2 separate regions of the Homo sapiens genome follow, and region 2 is linked to region 1. The links are contacts of gene promoters, found by promoter capture Hi-C in human tissues and cell types (Jung and others, 2019). All regions are on one chromosome and are shown on one strand. The core of a region is centred on a gene start or on the middle of the fragment in contact, and the rest is flanking DNA. Distances in the headings are between cores, read along the strand shown.

What was found. Contacts are between HindIII fragments. The study calls those that stand out against the background at their distance.
Region 2: a fragment that was not itself captured here is called in contact with the fragment with the promoter of ICOSLG in region 1 in 2 of the 25 tissues and cell types used here (lymphoblastoid cells and spleen).

The regions. Positions count from the first base shown.
Region 1 is chr21:44,236,329-44,243,747 of GRCh38, forward strand. ICOSLG (inducible T cell costimulator ligand) reads right to left here and starts at 4,615. Exons shown (of 7, transcript NM_015259.6): 1 at 4,476-4,615; 2 at 2,120-2,160; 3 at 539-889. The coding sequence starts at 4,489. RefSeq lists enhancers at 3,092-3,870, 6,375-6,913 and cis regulatory regions at 4,426-5,425, 4,426-5,350, 4,426-5,341. The HindIII fragment of the contact is 7,916 bases long and covers 2,799-7,419 here.
Region 2 is chr21:44,201,439-44,208,857 of GRCh38, forward strand. It overlaps LOC105372832 (a long non-coding RNA gene), which reads right to left and starts at 5,971. Exons shown (of 4, transcript NR_188576.1): 1 at 5,765-5,971; 2 at 5,091-5,352; 3 at 385-519. LOC102725065 (a long non-coding RNA gene) reads left to right here and starts at 1,508. Exons shown (of 3, transcript XR_937789.3): 1 at 1,508-1,595; 2 at 4,680-6,781; 3 at 7,031-7,419. RefSeq lists enhancers at 413-1,176, 1,177-1,939, 5,067-6,266, 7,112-7,419 and cis regulatory regions at 5,240-6,305, 5,281-5,781, 5,390-6,439, 6,438-6,938, 6,466-6,966. The HindIII fragment of the contact is 4,473 bases long and covers 1-3,487 here.

The sequences.
Region 1 (7,419 bases), core at 3,365-5,864:
GTGGCTCACACCTGTAATCCCAGCACTTTGGGAGGCTGAGGCGGGCGGATCACGAGGCCAGGAATTTGAGACCAGCCTGGCCAACATGGTGAAACCCTGTCTCTACTAAAAATACAAAAATTAGCTGGGTGTGGTGGCACGCGCCTGTAGTCCCAGCTACTCGGGAGGCTGTGGAGAATTGCTTGAACCCAGGAGGCGGGGGTTGCGGTGAGCCAAGATTGTGCCACTGCACTGCAGCCTGGGTGACAGAGCGAGACTCCGTCTCAAAAAACAAAAACAAAAACAAAAGCTAACTAACTCAAGAGGCAAAGACAGCAAGGGTAGGAGCTCTTCCGGGAAACCAAGCAGCCGCAGGTCATGCACTAAGGATTTTTCAGCTGTTTAGTTTCCCTCGAAGTTAGACAGAAGCCTGATAACACAGATGAGAATTTTCTTCACTGGAAGAAACAGTGAATGAGCCAGGGAGGGGGTTTCATGAACACTTGTCCACGATGTGAGGCTGGGATGGACCTAGCTCTCCCCGCCTCGATGGTCCTACCTGCCACATGCAGTGTAACCTCAACGCTCAAAACCTCCTGGAATCCCAGGGATTGGCTCAACACCAGGCAGTGAAACTTCTGCTCGTCCTGGGGGGTGACGTTGAACAAGCGCAGGGAGAAGTCGCCCCGCAGCATGCCGGCCGGTGACATCAGGGCTCGGTTCCGGTAGCGGCTGTCCACGTTTTCCAAGGAGCTGTTCTGTGGGATGTGGTAGGTCACCACGGTTTTCGACTCACTGGTTTGCCAATATACGTAAACATCATTTAAATCAAAACGGCTTCCTTCAGGGCAAGCGCAGCTGAGCTCCACGTCGCTGCCTACCATCGCTCTGACTTCCTTCTCCTGAGTATCTGCAATGGCCCAAAAGGTGCAAAATCTGTTTTCGGAGGCTGATGCCCAGGCCATGAAGCTACTCTATGGGGCAGACTTTGGGTTTCAAGCCTCAAACACCAACGGTGGCTCAGAATTTATTAACAAGGCACATGTAGGAATGCAGTCAAACTTGAAAAACGCAGACATTTCATGGTGAGGTCCATGTCAGTCTTTGGCTTCGATGACACACTCCTGTTATGTAAGGGGCTGCCATGGGGAGGAGCGGCTGGATGGGGCCTGGCCGCTCAGTGTTATTTTTGTTACTCAGCACTACTTTTACTACTTCTCGGGAGTCTATAATTAATGCACAATAAAAAGTTCTTTAAGGGAAAGGCATTTAAGGGAAAAGAATTTCTCAGCAATTACATTATATTGCTGCTCACTTGCAGTAGGAAAGCTGTCACAAATGTGGCAGACACAGGGTAGCTTTACTGTTTGTGCAGCTACGTAAATGCCTGTGGGAAAATCTTTTTTTTTGAGATGGAGTCTTGCTCCGTCACCCAGGCTGGGGTGCAATGGCGTGATCTCAGCTCACTGCAACCCCCGACTCTGGGGTTCACGCCATTCTCCTGCCTCACCCTCCCAAGTAGCTGGGATTACAGGTGCCCGCCACCATGCCCAGCTAATTTTTTGTATTTTTAGTAGAGATCGGGCTTCACTATGTTGGCCAGCCTGGTCTCGAACTCCTGACCTCAGGTGATCCACCCGCCTTGGCCTCCCAAAGTCCTGGGATTACAGGAGTGAGCCACTGCACCTGGCACCTGCAGGAAAATCTGTGTGTGTCCCCTGCCCCCAAAGCCCTCTGGGCTGGAAGGCTTGGCAAGGTTTCAGGTTTGTGCTGCGGTGCTTCGTCCTTATTCCTGGCTCTTCCAGAGGCTGGTGGCTCTTAGGGCTCAGCAGGGCTGCTGCCTGGGACAGGGAGACCAGGGGACCCAGGAAGCCCTGGCTCAGAGGAACTGCATTCTGCCCGCAACAAAGACGGAGTCAAACAAGAACTCCGGAGTTTGCAGAAGTGTTTCCCTTTAAGGAAACGCTTCTATCCTGTGCAGCAACCTAGGTTTAGGGTCCAACTGTCTCCAAAGGACCACTTGAGAAGCAAGAAGGAGCCTGGTGAGGCTGCTCCCAGTGCCCTGCGGCCAGCAGTCCACACAGCCGGAGAGCCCATCTCTGAGCTGGGCGCCCCATGGCAAAGCACCCCCTGAACTTACCAGCTCGAAGGCTGCTGAAGAGCAGGAAGAGCAGTCCAGGACTGGAAAAAACAACCAGAAAGGCAGGTGAGGCGGGGCCACCAGGGAGTTACCTGTATCTTCCAAACAGGAACAGGCTGGTTCCCATGAGCAGGAGGTAGTTAAGCCCATCACAGAAATGTGAAGGCAGAGCCAGGAGCCTGCCTGCCTCTGTTCTCCATGGGAATTCGGGGTCCGGGGCCAGGACCACCACCCTCCTGCCCAGCACAGCAAGTCCGAGGGGCTGGCAGCCTCTCACCACTCTCTAGCTCTCGCGGTAACAAATCCCCAGAAACACAGTGATGCTGGCGTGAGGATGAAGGGGAGCGAGGGACGCCAGTGAGGCTGGTCTAGCCTTCCTGGGGACAGATGCCAAGAAGTTGTAGGAAATCAGAAAAAAAAAAAAAAAAAAAAGCTTTCAGGGCACATATAGTAGGAGTGTCACTTAAAATGCTGGGGAGACGGAGAACATCAGGCGTGCCCGTGACAGGGTCAGGTGAGTGACGGGACAGCCCTGTGCGGAACGCGGATCATTTTGAAACCAAACCTGAGCTCCTCCTGTTTCAGATCCTGCTGCAGCTGGTGCCCCTGCCTCGGGCAGCAAATTCCCCTCGTGACTCCAATGCCCCTGCCATCTTGGGTCTGGGAGCCTTTGCACCCTGCACGCCACAGGCTCGCCACCTCCTCCCGCCAGCCCCCAGGATGCCTTCCCCACGTGGGGGCCCTTAGTGGCCGGGACCACTTTGGTAGCAGTGCTTACCCCAGCCCCCCAAACCATCAGTTTCTGGGGCCAGCTCCCCATGAAGCAAGAGCCCCAGGAGCAGGGACATCTCCTTCTCTGATGTCCCTGCACCTCCAAGGTCTGGGAGACGCTCATCCCTCTTCTCTGTGGCCTCTGCCTGGGAAAGCTTGGGGGCTTTGTAAGTCAAAGGTTGGTCTTGTGGGAACCTCCCAGTGGGCTGTCCCTGAGCCCTGGAGCCACAGAAACCCCTGCCCCACCCACGATGGCTGTCATCTGAGTCTGCATGGAGGTGTGTCTGTGCCAAGTGAGCACACATGCACCAAGGCGGCCCCTGGCCACCAGGGGCTCTTGAAGTCTGCAGGCGGCCCTTCCTCTCTCTCCCACTCCCCCTGTTGGGGCCACCATTCTGGCTGGCAAGATGGCTGTGATGGCCTCCAGCAGGCCCCCTGCCTCCACCCTTAGCCCCTTCAAGCATTTCCCCAGAGCCACCATCTAAACGACAGCTGTGAGAACTCCTCTGTGCCCCCATTTGTCTCCCACAGTGCCCATATTCATCACCAGCCCACAAGGCCCCTCCTGTCTATGGAGGCCTCCTCAGGACATCTGGGGGCTTCCTGGGCCAGGGTGGGGGGTGCCTGCTCCAGGCTGTTTCTGGCTTGTCCCCTCCCTGGGTGCTGCCTAAGCAGCGGCCTCTGTGTCCTTTCCTTGGACCCTCAGCACCCCTGCATCTAACCTACCCCCACCCCGAGCTTGCCTCAAGACCCAGCATGGACAGGGCCGCCTACCTGAAGGTGTGGGTGGCGGAGGGCTAAGACATTTGGGAGGGCTATGACATTCCGGGACCTTTAAATTCTTTCTCTCTAGGGCAGGATCATAACTGCATACACTTCTAATGGGGAGGGGACCTGGGGAGTGTGACTCCGGTGTGGCCCAGCTCTGAGCTGTGCGGGAGGCATCCCTGGGGTCAGGGGCCTCACAGGTTCACCCAGGGGAGCACAGGCTGCGGACCCTACAACGTGGGTTGCGAAGAGTATATTTTGGATATTTTCGCAAAAATCCAGGAGGAAGCTGTCACTCCTGGTTCAGGCAGCCCCGCCTTCCCCAGTGTGGATCGGCTGCCGGGCTGCGGGGAATCCCACGTGTGTGGGGGAGGGCGTGTCCGCAGACCGTGGGCACCAGCTGGCCTTGGAGAGCGCTCGGCCGGTCACCTCCCTCCTTCTCCCTTCTTCTAGGAAATCAGCAGTGCCAGGGAGTGGAAGGGGCAGCGCCCGTGCCCCGGCGTGCAGGGTGCGCCCGCCTTCCCTCCCTCCTTCCAGCGTTCGCGGTCCTCCTTCCCTGGCAGGGACCCCGCCCCCGAGCCCGCCCCCGCACGGCTGTGCGTCCTGCCATGGGTCCCGGTGCCAGGCCCCGCCGCCCACTGCCGTCCACGCCCCGCCGGCCGCCCCGGCGCCTCCGCCGCCCGCTCCTCGGACCCGCACTGCCAGCCCGGCACCTCCAGGCGAGCCCCGCAGGCCCCGCGTCCGAGCCGAGCTGGGGACGCGCGGGCCGAGCCACCCCGCCCCTGACCGCGGCGCCTCCGCTCCTTCCCCGGCTCACCTGCCCAGCCGCATGGTGCGGGCGGAGACCTCGGGCCGCGGAGACCTCGGGGCGCGGAGACCTCGGGGCGCGGAGAACTTGGGCCGCGGGAGACCTCGGAGAGGAGCAACCTCGGGGCGCGGGAGATCGGCTCTAACTGCGCTCCCGCCGCGCCCGAGGCTCTGAGCGCCCAGCGCGCGGTGTGCTGGAGGCAGCCGTGTCCCCGCCCCGTCCCCGCCCCGCCCCCGGCCTGGCTCCTCTGGCGACCGAGACCGCCCCGGGACAGGAGGCGGGGCGCTGCGCGGCGGCTCCGGAAAGTTCGGCTCTGCCCAGGCGTGTGCCCGTCGGCCGGAGGCGGGACAGAGGCAGGTCGGCCTGTCCGCCTGGACGCGGACCTGGGCGCCGTAGGTGCCCTGGGAAGCGCAGGGGTGGGGGGTACCCGGCAGGAAGGTGGCCAGGGGTGCTGCGGGTGCCGGCGCAGCGAGGGAGGGCACCGTGGGAGGCAAGGGCCGTTCCCCGCGCCGCGCACAATGCGCCGGTCCTGCGGCCCTCCCCGAGCAGGAGTCCGGGGACCCAGGCCCCAAGGCTGGGAGAGCGCCAGGCCCCTGGCCGGCTGCGCTCCGATGATCTCCAGGACTTAAGGCGAGTGAGCTCAGCGACTGCTGAGGAATGAATGACTGAATGAACGCATGCATGAATGGAAGGAGGGAGGGAAAGTGGGCGGGCTCTACCCTCTGGGCCAGCCCCAGCCCGCCCCCACCTAGCCTTGCTCCCCTAGCCTTCTAGGGGTGTGAAGGGCGCTGGCGCAGCCTCTTTGCTTAACACTGGCTCTGAGGATCCCCCGCCGAGAAACCGAGGCAGGCTTGCGGCTCTGGGCTCGTCAGCCTTGGCAGTGGCGTCTGGCCTGGAGTCTGGGGCAGCTGGTTTGGGAAAGGCTGCACCACGCAACCGAGGGTGGGACCCAGAGTCCCTGCTCCTTCCCCACCGCACCCAGCCCACCCCGCCCTCCCTCCCTGATCCCTGCAAGCCAGGTGAGGCCCAGGGGGGACGTGACTCCCTTTCTGCAGAGGCACCTCCGGAAGGGCCTGGGTGAGGCTGCTAGACAGGGCAGCGGGGCACCCTCCTCCCGGAGCCCCCGCCTCTGGGCTGAGGCTCGGATCCCCACCGCCTCCTGCGCATGGAGGAGGCGAGAAGCGCAGGGAGACGGGGGCCCCAGACGGCACCCCGCAGGCTGCCATTCCTTCAACCAAGATGTAGAGAACGCCGTGGACAAAAGCTTTAAAAAAATTCTGAAACCTCTGCCCGTGGGAAGTCAACATTTTTGCGGAGCAGAGAGCCCAGGCACAAAATAAGAAGGCGGAAGAGACGGGCTGGGGGGATAGGGGGGACGGCGGCGGGGAAGGGCAGGGAGGGCGGCGGCGAAGGCGCAGGAAGCCCTGAAGCCGGGCGGCTTCCCCCTCCCAGGCCACGCTGAGAGACGGGGGTTGGGGGGATTTAAAATCGCGCGCCTGGCAGGGGCGGGGCGGGGGCCACCTGCCCTCCGGCGGGAAGAGCTGGGCAGGGCCCGCGGAGTGCAGGGCGGAGGCACTGGCGGTCCGCACCCGGGTGAGGTGAGGCGCGTAACCGCATCTGAGCCGGACTCTTTAGGACGAGTCCCGTCCCTGGAGTCAGAAAACCCGGTCCAGCGCCAGCGTGGACGTGCGCTTCCCGGGACACGCCCAGGGACGCCGGCTAGGACCGGCGAGGCTGGAGGGGTGGCGATGTTGGGGGCTGAGGTTCCTCGCCCCGGGGCGGGCGGCTGCTGGTAAGGGACCGCATGGCCCCGCAGGTGAGGAGGGCGCAGGTGAGGAGGGCGCAGGTGAGCCGGGCGGGCTGCGGGCAGCGCCACCTCCTCCCGGAGGCCCTCCCTGATTGACCGGCCGGGAACCGCGCGCCTCTGGGCCTGCGGCTGAGGTCCGGGGCTGCGCCGCGCCGATGAGCTGACGCCGGGCCGAGCGCTCCACCCCCAGGGCCGGGCGCACCTGAATCCCCTCCACCCGCGGGACTGCGGAGAGGGGGACGGCCCCCGGATACCGCGTGGGGGCTTTGGGAGGATGGGGAATGGGTCCTGGGGGAGCAGAGCCTCCCAAATTAAGGCCTCCCAAGAGCGCGGCCGGTCATCCGCGGCGGCGAAGGGAAGGTGCCCTGTCGGTGCGTCCGGACCCCGCAGCCCCCCAGTGCCGCCCGGGGGCGGTGGGAGAGGGGCCGACACCGCAGGGCCCGCCGTGCTGTGGCCGAGGGGGCAGGTCCAGGCTCTGCTTCCCGGGCAGACGCCGGAGACCCCAGCAAGCCAAGTGCTGCGGGCAGCCCCCCCCCCGCCCCCCCGAGAGAGGGGACGCCGCGTGGAGGCCACAGCCAGGCAGGGGCAGGAAGGCAGCTGGGCCAGAAGGGGACACTGAGGCAGGCCGAGGCGGCCGCGGGGGAGGGTGCCAGGACCAGCCCAGGAACCTCGGAGACCACGGTAAGCGGTGGCTGGTTCAGATCCCAACTCCGGAGCTGTGTGACCCCAGAAAGTTCCTTAGCCCCTTGGTGCCTGCATCCCCTGACGTGTGACATATACATGAATGGGGCTGTTGTAAGTGAACGCACACAGCACACCGGCACATGTGTCACAACACTTAGATGGGTTTAGATGAAGAAACAGGGAAACCTTTGGGAAGTTTCCTGTAGTCAAAGGAAGGTTTTCGTTTTCCCCCTCAACCGTGACTGTTTCTTGGGCCGGCAGGATAGGCTTTTGTTCTAGGGGTGTGGAGAGAGGGCCCCTTGGCAGCGTCCAGGGCCAACTGGGAACCAAGCAGGAATCGTATTTGTGCAGCCTGGAGTTCGAGGCTCTGGGTGCGAGTCGTAGTGCTTAAGCAGGAAGCAGCTGCCTGATGCCCCTAGCCCCAGGCCGCCCTGCTCTGCCGTTTCGAGGGCGTGGGGGTCT
Region 2 (7,419 bases), core at 1-2,500, 38 kb before region 1:
TCTCAGATTTAATGGCCTCTTGAGGCTAAGAAGCCAAACCAAGGCAGGCTTTAGATTTGACCGATAGCCCTGAGGTTCCTGGGCCTGCCAGATGGTGACAGTTTTTATTTACTCTCGCTGTAAGGCTGGGAACTTTCTTTTTATTTGGAGGGGGGATGGAGTTTTGATCTTGTTGCCCAGGCTGGAGCGCAATGGCGCGATGTTGGCTCACTTCAACCTCTGCCTCCCGGGTTCAAGCGGTTCTCCTGTCTCAGCCTCCCAGGTAGCTGGGATTACAGGCGGCTGTCACCACGCCCAGCTAATTTTAGTATTTTTAGTAGAGATGGGGTTTCACCATGTTGGCCAGGCTGGTCTCAAACTCCTGACACCAGGTGATCTTCCCACCTCAGCCTCCCAAAGTGCTGGGATGATAGGCGTGAGCCAGCGCGGCCGGCCAGGCTTGGAACGCTTGAGGCACATTCTCAGAGACACGATTTCGGTCACAGCCTTGGTAATATGACTGGTGTTTTCAGTTGTAGCCTGTCATGAAAAGAGATTGACACATTACATTTTTGATACTACCTTACGTTTTTCCTGGCCTTTTGTTTATTTTTTATTTATTTATTTTTTAGAGACAGTGTCTCACTGTGGACGTCCAGCCTCTGGAACTGTGAGAGGTACATGTCTGTTATGTAGGCTGCCCAGGCTGTGGAACTGTGTCATAGTGGCCTGAGTGACTTAAGCACCTGCCTGTAGGCCAGGACTGTGGCTCCACAGCCCAGCTTCAAGCCTGGCCGACCAGGGGTTTGGCATGAAGACCCCGGCAGGGCTGGGGCTGTGCTGGAATCCACCCGGAAGTTTCCTGCCCCTTGGGCTGCCCACCAGGTCCCCTTTCTGCTCTGATCAAGCTGGACAAAACGTCGTGGGGCCACAGCACAGGGGGCCAACGCAAGCTGGGATCGTCAGACGTTAGGAAATCCCAAGGAAGAAGAGAAAGGGGACACATTCGGGAGACGTCGGCACACGCTCGAAGCAGCGGACAGGCACCTCTCTGTGGACAAGGCAGACTGGGCGGCCGAGATTCCGCATAGATGCCTGCTTCCTCCACGACCTCCACGTGTGGCTGGCCCAGTCCGGGTCCCCCTCACCTCCTCTGTCTGTCTTGGTGGCCTCACGCCGTGGGCTGTGATGCCGGCTACGCTGCTTGGGTGGCCAAGGGTCTGAGCTGCAAGACGCCCAGCCTGGGTCTCTCCCGAGCTCTCCCACGTCCTGTCTGCTCCTCCTCCGAGCTCCCGGTTGACTCTCACGACTGCACCAGCCTCTCCCCCAGGAAGGCGTGGAAACAACCTCCTTCTCCCAGGCCCGCTCTGCCTCCTGCGTTTCAAGGCAAATCCGTTCCTCCAGGAGATGATGCAACCACATCCTGTTGGAGCCCAGAGAAGTGCGGATGCAGCCCGGGGCTCTTTCTTTCCTAGAACCCTGCCTGGGAGTGGCTTCCCTGAACTAAGGACAGAGACTTTGTCTTCGTTGCCTCTCGGCCTGTGGGCACTGAGCATACAGTAGGTGCTCAGTAAATGCTTGCAGGCCGATGCCCAGAGCCATTAGCCCTCATCATGGTGAGCTCGGCAGCCGGTGTTGGGGCTGGGCTGGGCCTAGGTGTGCGTGGGGGCGGTGCTGGTCTGCTTTGCTGGGAGCCATGGACACCGGAGGAACAGGGCCCCATCAGTGCGGTCAGAGTGCAAACTCGGAGCGTCCTTCTCTGGAAAACGAATCGCAGTGGCCCCGATCTTTGGGGCTTTCTGTGTCCCCTGTGCATGGTTAGAGAAGAGAAAACATGCACTGGTTTCCTGAAAATCCCTAGGATTTCTTCAGAGGTCTCAGCTTCTGCCCACAGCCTCTGGGGAGCAGACCAGGAGCCCCGCAGCACGGGAGTCCCCAGACCCACCCTGACCACAGCCCAGGAATCCCGAAGCAGAGGCTCTGGGTCAGCTTCTGCAGACGCTGGAGAAGGCGGGAGGCTCAGGGCTGGGCCTCCAGGTGTAACCGCCTGATGGGCTCTTCCTGCCCCTGCACAGACAAAACCTCTTCACTGGGCCCAAGGCATTGCTATAAAGAGTTTAATAGACACCAGGCTGGCCATGCCACGTGGGAGATGGAGTTATTACTCAAATCAATCTCCCCCAAGAGACGGAGTTATTACTCAAATCAATCATCTCCCCCAAAATTCTCAGGCTCGGGTTTTTCAAGGATAGTTTGGCAGGCCAGGGAGTCTGCTTCTGGGTGGGGCCACAGGACCCGTTTGTGGCGGGCAGGGGGGTTGGTGTGTCCAAATCCAGGTGGAGCCATCATTGTCAGAAATGCAAAAACCTGAAAAGACACCTCAAAAGGCCGATCTTAGCGTCTACAATAGTGATTCATCCTCAGGAGTAATTGGGGAAGTTGCAAATTGTGTGACCTCCGGAATAATGGCTGTTACAATTTTTGCAAAGGCAGTTTCACAGGGATGAGGCCAGGACAGAGGGCACAGCCCGCTGGGACTCCAGGGCTGCCCCTGCACCCCCCATATCAGCTCAGAGAGGCCTGGTGTCCCCGCTGCCAGGGGTTGACACCCACTGGTACCCCCTGTGGAGCAGCTGTGGGCGGGGGCTCTGCAGGGAGGGTGTCGGGGGGGCCAGGTGAGCCAGCCCAGAGCCATGCCCGCACCTGCTGTGGGCCCTGGCCAGGGCAACCGCTGCCTCTTCCTTTGATGTCCCTACCCTATGCCCCTCTCTTCAGGCCTGTTCTGCCTGACCCCGCTACCTCCATCCGGCTGCCTTCCATGAGCAGCAGCTGCCTCCCCCCCACACCCTTCCTTGGTGGCCCCGCCCCTCTGATCTCCGTGAGCCAGGATCTCCCCCAGGATCCCTATTTCCCACGGGCTTTTGGCAATGGGCTGCTCACCCCCTCCTTCCCCTCCTCCTCATTCATCTGCCATCTGTGAAATGTGGAGGAGGGGCCTGCCCTGTGCCAGGATCTGTGCCCTAGACACTTCCCCAGCCAGGCCCAAGGGCTGAGCGTGAGGCTGGCAGGTCTGCACTTGAGGTGGATGGTGAGGGTGCCCTCGCCCACCTGCAGCCATTGTCTGCTGAGTACCTGTGGTGCAGATGGGGATGGCTGCAGGGGGGTCTCAGCTCACGCAGTATTGCGGCCATGGGTGCTGGACATTGGTAGGTCTCTCTGAGCAGAGCCCGATGGAAGTGAGAAGGGCGTGCGTTAGGGGAGCATTTGGAGAGGGAGCCACGGGTACAGCTGCCCTGCAAGCTCCAGCGCCCATGGGAAAAAGGGACCGAGGGGGAGAGGGGAGGGGATAGGGGGAGGGGAAGGGGATGGGGCGTCGGTGGTTGCTTGGGCTCTTAGGGTGGGGGTGATGCCTGCAGTCTTGGTGTTGAAGGGAAGACCAGGGAAGAGGGAAGGCAGGAGGCCTGGGAGAGAAAGGGAAGAGCTGTTGGGTGCTGGCGGAGTGGAGCGGGCTCTTGCATCACTCCATCCCAGGCTCCACCCTGCCTGCACCTGGAGGCCTCCCTCACCTGGCTCCTCTGTGCTCCAGACCCCTCCCCTTTCCAGGTCCAGGATTCCCCCTGCCCAAACAGCACTGACCAGGCCCCCAGGGCCTGTGCCTGCAGCCCCCAGGGACGGGTGGGCGTAAAAAGATACAGCGGGCCAGGCGGCTCACGCCTGTAATCCCAGCACTTTGGGAGGCCAAGGTGGGTGGATCATGAGGTCAGGAGTTCAAGACCAGCCTGGCCAAGATGGTGAAACCCTGTCTCTACTAAAAATACAAAAAAATTAGCCGGCGTGGTGGCCTGTGCCTGTAATCCCAGCTACTCCGGAGGCTGAGGCAGAGAATTGCTTAAACCTGCAGGGGTGGAGGTTGCAGGGAGCCGAGACCGCACCACTGCACTCCAGCCTGGGCGACAGACCAAGACTCCGTCTCAAAAAAAAAAAAAACAAAAAAACACAGCGGCCATTCTGGGAGCCTTGGAATGACCCTGAGAAGTGAGTGTGAGCATGTCTGGAACACGCAGCCGAGCCTGAAGGAGGACTGGGTGCCTGCAGTGGGAGCCATCTCCCTTCTGGGTTTTCTGATTTTAGCCTCGCGCTGCCTTTGAGCGATTTTCCAATCTGTACATTACAGATAACAGAGAGCAATGCAGATAACTCTTGCTTATAGCCACGTGTAGTGGGTTGACAGTGGCCCCCAAAAGCTATGTGTAAGTCCCGACCCTCATGCCTATGGGGTTGAGCTTATTTGGAAATAGGGTGTTTGTAGATGCGTCATTAGATTAAGGCTTTTTTTTTGTTTTTTTGTTTTGTTTTTTGTTTTATTTTTTTTTTTTTAGGCGGAGTCTCACTCTTGTTGCCCAGGCTGGAGTGCAGTGGCACGATCTCGGCTCACTGCAACCTCTGCCTCCTGGGTTCAAGCAATTCTCCTGCCTCAGCCTCCCAAGTAGCTGGGATTACAGGCACCCACCACCACACCCAGCTAATTTTTGTATTTTTAGTAGAGATGGGGTTTCACTATGCTGGCCAGGCTGGTCTTAAACTCCTGACCTCAGGCAACCTGCCTGCCTTGGCCTCCCAAAGTGCTGGGATTGCAGGCGTGAGTCACCGTGCCCAGACAAATTAAGGCTCTTGAGACGAGGTCATCCTGGGTTATGCAGATGGACCCTGAATCCGACACTAGCACCCGTGTGGAAGGAACGAGAGGGAGATTTGGGGTCCGCAGAGGCAAACCACAGGAGGACGGAGTCGGAGACTGGAGCACCGCGGCCTTGATCGGGGGACACCAGGGCTGCCGGCTGTGCCAGAAGGGGCTGAGGCTGGACCGGATTCTCTCCGAGTTCCCAGAAGGAGCCAGTCCTGCCGACGCCTTGATGCTGGACTCTGGCCTCCAGAAATGTGCGAGGACAAACATCTGCGGTTTCTAGGCCCCGCCTGTGGTCCTCTGTTGCAGCAGCCTGGACAGTCTGGACTGCCTGGACAGCATGCAGATGGGCTCTGCCCGCGGCTGCCCACGAGTTCCCACCGCCCGCCCGTCCGTGGGAGAGCCAGTCCTCGTATGTGAAGCGTACCTGTATCCCTTTACTCCGCGTACACAGGTGCCTTTGTCACTTCTCCTTTGACCTGGCTGGCACATCTTACCGGTTTCTGCGCTAACAATGAGTTGAAGGAAATCTTGAACGCGCGTTCATTTTATATCGGTATCAGAGTCTGTTTATTTCTTGTTGACACTAATCTTTGAGCATGAGTAGTTTAGTGATTGTGAAACAGAAACTTCTGGATACAAAATCAGTCTCCTGGCTGTGACCCAATCATCTTCGCAGTTCTGATTACCTGTGATTAAGAAAATAAATAAGAACACCCATTGGGGGAAGGCTTCCCTCCCCCGGGCACAGCAGCTTTAAAACCGAAAGGGAAGTGGGTGCTGTGAGCAGCTCTGTTCAGGCCTAAGGCCACGCATGTGTGCCCCGTGGGGGAGACATGCACCAGCGAATCAGGAAACAGTGGTGACAGCCGTTCCGGGAGGCTGACTGGGGGTGCAGGGGTCACTTTTCTAATGTGGGTGGGTCTGTGTCCCCTGCAGGAACGTGGCTGCAGCAAAGCCGGTCAGCCAGCGGTCAGCTCCAGCCCCTGTCCAGGCCCTGTGGGTCCTGCTGACCAGGCTGCGGTTGTTCCCAAACCAGTTCCCAGCCCCCGCTTGCCCTACTTCCTCTCACACCAGCTCCTTCCACCCCCTCACACCCACCTGCAGGCTCCCAGCCCAGGCTACTGACATCAATCATGGCAATCGCTATTCCAGAGGTATACGCGGTGGGTGGGGTCCGGTATCGCCTGCCATGCCTCACTCACCGGGCACCCAGATAACCTGAGGCCAGGGAGCAGCCACTCGCCCTGACCCATGCTCCCCGGGCCCCTGAGGCACCCAGGAGGACCACCCGGCCGCTTCTGCTCAGAGCCCAGCACCCCCGAGTCTGTGAAGAGGTCACATCTGACCACGTTTCCAGGTGGCTGCCCAGGCGTGGGTTCATGGCCGCTTCCGGTTTCCTCCTCGAGCTGAACCACACACCTGCTCTGTCCCGGGCTTTCTGGAGGGGTTTTCCGAAGTGAGACTGTGGGCTCCCTCCAGGGCTGGGGGCAGGAGGACACACGGGGAAGGTGGGCAAGCAGCCCCAGGCTGAGGGAGGCCTCCCCTCTGCAGCGTTTGTTCATTCATTTGTTCATCGCTAACACTGTCTTGGGCATCAGGGAAAACAGGTGTCTCTGGTCCACATGCAGAAGAGCCACCACCGTGGCACGACTGGATGACTCAGACCCCGGGCGGGGGGTATGATTTGGACACAGTCATTGTCCAGGGACACAACTTTGCCTGGACCAGAGCTTCTCACCCCCAGGCCATTTGAAACCCCAGGGGATACTCGACAAAGTCCAGAGACATTTTGGGTTGTTCCTTTCCAGCCCCGGCGATGGTGGGGACGTGTCCATGTCTGTGTCCCTCCGGTCACTCTCTCTGGCCCTCTCCCTCCCTGGGGGCAGCTGCTCTCAGCCCTCCCTGCCCCCACATCGCCATCCTGCCTGTCCTTCTGGGCCTGCACGTTTGTTGTGTTTGGAAGGAGCCACCAAGGAGGAGGATGTCAATGTGCAAGTTCTCAGGGAAGCAGGCCCCGCAGCCTCCGTCAGTGTCTTCCGTCCGCAGGAAGAACCCAGGCCTGGGTGATTCATCGGGGCCTCAGGGCCGGGAGGCACTAAATCTTCTGCAGATGTGGTAAGATCCTATCACAGCAGAAAGGGAAGGGCTAGAGTCTCAGGGAAGGTTTTGCTAGGGAGACGGGCTTGGAGGGGGCTGAGGCTCATGGGAGCTGCAAGGGTACAGGAGGGGAGGGGACCCCAGGGCAGGTGGATGGACACCTGGGTGGGTAAGAAAAGGGCCTCTCAGAGGGCAAGGGAGGGCCAGGGAGGGAGCAGTGAGCCCTGACTGACTGTACAAGCTTAACTGGCTGCCCTTGTCCTGCAGGTGGTGTGGGCTGTGTGGATTTCGGATGTGGGCCCATAACATAGCCACACTGCTGCAAAGCAAGTGAGTCTGAGGCAAGAAGAAGGCCCAACCTTGGGAGGCTGACCTGGAGGGCAGGCAGAGGCAGGTGGTAAGGACCTGCCTTACCTGTTGAGGTGACAGTGGGGGACATATTGCAAGGAAGGAGGCCCTGGATCCTCAGGATGTGGATGGTGGGTAGAAGGGTGACAGCTAATGGATGTCCACCTGCACAGATGCCCACCTGCATGAGTGCCCACCTGCATGAGTGCCCACTTGTACCAATGTCCACCTGTACAGATGTCCACATGCAAATGCCCATCTGCACTGATATCCACCTGCACAGATGCCTACCTGCATGAATACCCACT